2 separate regions of the Homo sapiens genome follow, and region 1 is linked to region 2. Evidence: promoter capture Hi-C in 16 types of primary human blood cells and fetal thymus (Javierre and others, 2016). All regions are on one chromosome and are shown on one strand. The core of a region is centred on a gene start or on the middle of the fragment in contact, and the rest is flanking DNA. Distances in the headings are between cores, read along the strand shown. Region 1 overlaps LRMDA (leucine rich melanocyte differentiation associated). Region 2 holds the start of LRMDA (leucine rich melanocyte differentiation associated).

Region 1 (3,465 bases), core at 32-2,531, 220 kb after region 2:
TTGATGTGCAAGATTTTAGTTGATGAAGTCTAGTTTGTCTATTTTCTTTCTTTTGTTGCCTGTGCTTTTGGTGTCATATCCAAGAAATCATTGCCAAATCCAGTGTCATGAAGCTTTCCCCCTATGTTTTCTTCTAAAAGTTTTATCGTTTTCATTCTTAAATGCTCAGTTATTTGATCCATTTTGAGCTAATTTTTGTAGATAGTGTTAGGTAAGGGTCCAACTCACTTTTTTGGCATGTGGATGTCCAGTTTTCCAGCACAATTTGTTGTAAAGACTGTCTTAGTAACCTTGTCAAAATCATTTGACCATCTATGCAAGAGTTATTTCTAGGTTCTCTATTCTTTTAATAACAAAATTATTTTTTGTCTCCCCCATTAAATTATTGACTTTTTTTTTTCATGATAAGGTTGAGAGATAGCAGAATTTAAACATTTAGACCGCTAGATAGGAGTTGCAATGCAGGGTCTACTCTTGGCTCTGACCCTGGAACAGGTCACAACCACAATTCTTTGCCTCTCTGCCCAACTTTTGAAAAGGAAAGGTGATAGTATTGGCGATTTTAAAGTCAACAGAGAAAACAGACTTGGAATGGTCTTTCAAGTCTTTAAAAGGAAAGGGAGGGAGGGCCCTTTTCTAACTGGAAGGCTCAGATTTCTGGTGAGTGTGAGGGCCACCATCTTCCTGACCCTCAGATGACCCTTCTTCCTGCAGTCCCATGACTAAACTGGAGGTCAGCACCGGGGTGAGGATGCGGTCAAAGGATGAGCCCCCATGGTGGGCAAACAGGGCCAGAGAGAACTCTCATCAGCATTATAGATGGTCGCCCCAGCATCAAAGGGCAGCCTACTCTCTCCTCAGGTCAGGGAAGCCTCTTTGTGTCATTCACATTGTTGTGAAAAGAGAAAAAAAACACTTGGCCCAAAATGTTCTCTCCACCATTTTCTACCTGATCTTCTCTGTCTTTTTCTCTCCTGACATTCTTCTCTGTTAGCCCTAGAAAGGCCCGTGTCTTCCTTCTTTCTTGCCTTGTGTATATTTTCACAGTGAGGTTTCTGTACTCTGTGTGCTGTTATGCCAAAATGTTGCTGTATGGCAAGAGACAGGATATATCCCTAAGCACCAATCATGTATACCTCATCTACCAGTGAGCTGTGAGGTAAATCCATGAGTCCCGAAACCTGGGCTCAAGAAGAAAGCTGCTTCCATGCTCTAGGATCTGGGCAGAAAATGTGATTCTAAAGGGTTATGTTTGAGGGTATCGCTCAGCCCTGAAGACTGTGCACACTGTCATAAGCCCTTGGATACTCTCCCACTTAGGGATTTCTGTGCATTTCAGTCTTCTTAGGCTGCAGCTGGAAGTCAATAGGAAGTGTTGTGGTCTCTCACAACAAGCTCATTTATTCATCCATTCTCTGGACACTCAAGGAAAAATATTAGCTCCTCTTAGGATCTGTGTATAAGCCAAATCATGTTGGCTTAGGCGTACTAGGAGGAGATTTTCAAGCTGTGTTAGAAGAGGGAATATAGTCACCTTTATCTTTCCAAGTTATCTGTCAGTTGAGAGCCATGCTGCTGTTAACAGCACCTCCCGGTGGCCCAAAAGGAAGGCATAAGGACCCAGCCAATCTTGCTTAGGCTTTTATGGGAAGAGTCTTTTGTAGGCCTTGGTGACTGAGCACATTGAGCTATATGATGGTGGGTTTTTTACATTGTATAGGGTTTTGATGAAAGATATGGTATGAGCCCCTAAAGCACTTAAGGGTACCAATAGACTTGACACTTCTCCACTTCCATCACACAGTATTGCTATGAAAATGCAATCAATCCAGTTCCTGACATCTTTTCTACCCCACTCTCAAGAGCACCTACTGTATCAACATGACATTTTAAAATCTTGGCTTGTTTTCCAGGCCATGAATTTAATTTCTCATTGCTTCACCATTTGGCTTTTATGTTCTCAAAGCGAAATGTTGTCCAACAATAGTTACCACCATCTTGTTAGTCAGGTCCTCTTTCCTGGGCATCCTAAAACCAGATAATTTTAAAAAATTCATTGCAGCCATGGGCACTCAGCCTTGTGCTAATAGCCACCAAGTTCTGACAAAGCAAGTCCGACATCCCTCGATAAGTAAAATCCAAACCTCCTGACGTTGTGTAACAGTAAGCAGATTGGCATGTCTTTGGATTAGTGGAGGCACTGAAGCAAAATGCTCAATCCTTAGTGACCTTTGGCAAATGGATGGGGATGTGTAGCCATTGTAGGTTATCTTTATGTTCACTGTGTAGACACTCAGCCTCTGCCAGGCCAAGACAGAAGCTGTCAGGGCAGATAAACTTAGTTGGGAACTAGCTGTTTTTCTGACTATATCACAGTGCTTTGCAGAACTATTTTGTCTGATAAACTGCTTCTTCTTTAAACTTGTCTGTGAATAGTTCTGTGAAGCATTAAGCTTTCCCTCTTGGGTTTTGAGCTGCCTGTACTTTGTTTTAATCTTTGGGTCTAGAACTGACTTTCTCATAAAATGTACAGTCCACTGTCCTCGGCTGCAGTGTCTTCCGGTGAGTTCCTTTGAGGGAGTCAGTGGGAGATGCCATATCTGGGTCTATCAGACATGTATTCTGGGGGATGTGTGTGTGTGTTTCTTCTATCTGTCCAGGAAGCATTCTGTGAAAATAGGGTCCCCTTTGATCACTTCTTTCTGAGCCCATTAATGCCTGTTTCTAGTTTAAACATAATTCATATGTTGATATAGAATTTTGCAAGCACTTGGAAAAAAAATTTGGGCAAAAGTTCTTACCACTTGGAGTAAAGCTCATACTTTTATTTCCCTCCTCTGCTAGAGAAGTGGTGACTAAAGGCCAGAGATGTTGATTCTGAACACTCTCTCTGCTTGGGCAAGTTGCTTGACTTCTTTGGGCTCAGGTTTGCTCCCCTTTAAAATAAGGTGGTCACATTAGGTGATTTCTGAGACCCACTCTGGCTTTAATGGACTCCAAGCTCTCTAAGACTGAAGCAGAGAATATTTTTGGGGAAGTGAATGAACTGTTGGGTTTTTCTTCTTTCATTCCTATTCCAGGTGAAGATAAAAGACTTAGCCCTCTATTGAGCTGACATGGATTCAGAATTCTTTAGTGTTCAGGCTTTCTTTTAAGCTTCAGACAGGATCGTGAAGAGAAAAACCTGCCCTCAATTCCTTTGCCTTGTTAGTTCTCATATAATGTGCTGCAGAAACTGCTAATTGTCACTTCGAGGTGATGGGTGAGGGTCTGGTCTCTTGAAGGAAAAGTCAAAATTTTCAGTTCCTGTCCCCTTCTTGTTTAGGTAGAGGTGTATTCAAGTCTGATAAAGGAGGACTCTAAATCTAATTTGAAATTAATTAAATTTGCCCCTTCCCCAAAGCAGTGGGGAGTGAGAGAGAGTTGCAGGGTAACAATGTAAATATCCAGTTGAATACAATATAC
Region 2 (3,168 bases), core at 364-2,863:
AGTGAGAGGGTGTGGAAAGGGGGAAAGATGCCAGCCCACTTTGGTGACATTGGTAGTGTCTGCAGAACAGCCTATGCTCAGATGACCCAGCTGTGTATGGAGGCAGGGGGATGGATGAGATGACCTTCAGTAACCCCCTTCTGGTGGGGGAAGGGAGAGCCGTTCTCCAATCTCATCTTTGAGTCAGCTTGGGCCTGTTTCCACAAGTCCTCTTCCATCTGTCAAAGCCCTTCTAGGAAAGCTGAGCTGAAAGGCAGCTGCGGAGGGCAGAGTGCTGGCTGGGTCCGGGCTCACTTCCTCCTTTTCAGGCAGGAAAAGCAGACAAAAGTGCACAATGGACCAGAGAGGGCGCGTCCAGCAGAGAAGGAGGGAGAAGGCGGGGGAGCTGGTCCTTGGGGCAACAGGCCTGGGAAGGTTCCCTTTGATCCCCTTATCTCTGGAGGGTAAGCTTTCTTTTTTGGCCTGCAGGACCTTTTGTTGCAGCATTTCCTGGAATCCCCCAAAGTAAACACAGTCAAGACTGCATTCTTACTGCTCTACTCTTCTGAGCCTGCTCCTCCCAGCTGAGAGAGGGGCAGGAAGGTCAACCCTCCGAGATCAACACTGCTCATCAAAATGCTGACAAGGGCCCACCTAACAATGTGTTAGGACCGGGGCTGTCTGAGAGACGATGCCAGTTAAGGCTGGGCTGGCTCTTAGCTGCAGCAAGAGTGGAAGATGACAACCAGTTGATATCTGGTAGCTCTGTGCATCCTGGACTTGGAGGCAAGAATAGGCAAGGAGAAAATCTGGATCCTTCCAGAGAATTTCAGAGAAAAACAGGCATGGGTTTAGGGAGTTACCTGCCCACTGGGCCTACTTTCATCCAGACAGGAGGCCCGTGGCCAGCTCTTCCAGGTGGGGATGGGGTGGGTGGGGAACAGCGAATAACCCCACTGATAACTTCAAGCCTCACAAATCTCTTGCCCTCTGAGGAGCAGGAGAAGAGAAGCCTGAAATTTGGGGTCACCAGCCAATTATCCTTCCCCAGGGTTTATTATTGTCAACTCTTAGAGGCCACAGGGAAAGGGTGGGGTGGTCTTCACCAAGCCAGCGTTTTATTTATAGGGAAATTCAACCCCCCCAATCCCCCTCCCCTCCTACAAATGGAAACTGGGCCGCACCAGGAGTCCTTCAACCTTCTAACTTTCCCTCTCCCCAGCTTTGATGAGGAGGGGCGTTCAGCCAAGAGGCCCCTCCTCGCTGCAGTTGAGGTCCATTATGTAACCCAGCTTGCGAAATGCAGGAAAGGCCCGGCTGGCTACAGCCCGGCTAACGGCTCAGAAAGGGCGCCCCTGATAGGAATACCCCCACCTCAGGCGTGGCCCAGACAAACGCGATAAAGCTGTGGGCATGGAGTTTTGGGCATTGGGACATCCGGGGGAGGGAGGGGCGCGGGCAGTCGGGGTCAGGCCGCCGTCGGGGCGCGGGGCGCTGCGGGCCACCTGTTGCAGCGGGCGGCCAGGGCTCACCTGCGCGGAGACCGGGCCGAGGGGCGGCGGCGGCGAGCGGCGGAGCTGAGGTCCCCGAGGCTAGCCCGCGCCTCCGGCTTCCGCCGGGTCAGCTGACTGCCCAGTGCGGAACTGTGCGCCCGCCGCGCTCCCCTGCCGCGCTCCCCGCTGCTGCCGCCGCGCCCCCGCGCTCCGTCCCGCGCGCCCGCAGCGTCCTGGCCGCCATGGCCGGGCTCGTGGTGCGTGGAACTCAAGTAAGTCCCGGCCAGCCCCGCCTCCGCCCGGGGCGCAGTCCGCGTGGGGAGGGACAGCGGGGCACAGAGGCTCCCCAGGGCCTAGACACCCCTGTCCCCGCCTCAGGGGGCTGCGTCTGCAGGGGGTGAGCTTCAGGTGCTCAGGCTCGCCCTAGTGGGGCTAGGACAGACCTCGTTTCGGGCCTGGCACACCCCCTTGATGTGCGGGAAGAACACCCGCAAGGTCTCCCGTTCTCCCCACTTCCTTCTGCCCTTAGCGCCTCACTGAGCAGGCCCAGCGGACACAGTGCTGACGGCCCCCGCTGCTTTTGGGGGCCCACAGAAAATGTTCCAATTTCATAATCTGAATTTTAAAAACTTTTGGTCAAAGAATCCATTTTGATAAATCACATTGATATAGTCATCTTTATACCAATGCAGTTGTAATATACAAATTTACTTATTTGTAAATGGAGGAAGGGGTTTATGAAGGCAAAAGTGTCTAGGGTACCCAAAGTCCCAGCACATCCCTGGAGATGAGGGTGCTGGTGGGCCCTGCGCTGAATGGGCTACGCCATAGCCAAAGGCTGATGGAAGGCCACCGACCTCCAGTTCTCTTTCCACACTCGATTTCTTGAACAGGAGTCTGTGATGAATGGCAACACGCCAGTTTCAATCCTGGGTGCCAGACACCCAGTCTCACATGCTTTGAGCTCTGTAGTGAAGCCTCAGGTGTTCATTGTTGGAGGGATGAACCCAGCCACTCTGGGACCAGGTGTCTTTCTTACCTGCTGGAAAAGCCAGTTCTCTGTCTTTAACCTCTTCTCTGCTCTGATGAAGCCAGAGCCCTCTTACTTCCCACCTTTCCCTGCACACCCTGGAGAAATAGTTCTGAGTTTTTGAAGCTCTCCTCTTGGATTGCCTAAGGCAGGTAGTGTCAGGCACAATTGGATTTTGAGATTACTTTGGGCTGAAGGGAATGATTCCTCCTTAGAGGAGATTCTAGGGGTTTTTACAGCTCCTACAGATGCAGTGAGGGCCAACTGTGCAGCCCATTAAACTAGCCGCTGCCTGTTTTCTTTTTTTCCAGAGTCCTGTCGTTTCATCAGGTACACATGTTTATTGAGTGCCTACTGTATGCCAGGCACCATGCCAGGTGTTGTTGGAAATTAGCCTTTCCTTTGTCTCTGTGCACCCCCCATTTAACAGTTTTGTTGCTCAGGAATGCTGGCTCTGTCCCTTGACCCACAGCCTGGGAGGAGAGAGCTGGAGAAAGACCAGAGTTCAGAAGTGAGTTAACAGCCTGCGGAGAGGCTAAAAATGACGGGTCTTGTTCAGCCATCGGGGAAAGGGGCTTTTTTTTTCTGGGAGTTAATTTACTGCCTGGAGGGAGGGGCTGGACAAGAGGGTCTTTTCCTTCTCTTGGAGTATCTACCTAAGAAGGA

Evidence for each region. The method cuts DNA at HindIII sites, captures the fragments that hold promoters and counts their contacts. A CHiCAGO score of 5 or more calls a contact.
Region 1: a fragment that was not itself captured here is called in contact with the fragment with the promoter of LRMDA in region 2 in 1 of 17 cell types (M2 macrophages); the score reaches 6.2 in M2 macrophages.

What each region holds. Positions count from the first base shown.
Region 1 is chr10:75,650,097-75,653,561 of GRCh38, forward strand. The region is part of intron 2 of LRMDA (leucine rich melanocyte differentiation associated); the gene reads left to right. Among named protein-coding and RNA genes, the nearest start is that of MIR606, 99 kb to the left of the region's middle. The HindIII fragment of the contact is 2,340 bases long and covers 112-2,451 here.
Region 2 is chr10:75,430,011-75,433,178 of GRCh38, forward strand. LRMDA (leucine rich melanocyte differentiation associated) reads left to right here and starts at 1,614. Exons shown (of 7, transcript NM_001305581.2): 1 at 1,614-1,744. The coding sequence starts at 1,715. It overlaps LOC107984293 (a long non-coding RNA gene), which reads right to left and starts at 1,600. Exons shown (of 2, transcript XR_001747703.2): 1 at 1,512-1,600; 2 at 1-300. RefSeq lists enhancers at 1,422-1,922, 1,923-2,423 and a silencer at 1,564-1,663. The HindIII fragment of the contact is 4,872 bases long and covers 447-3,168 here.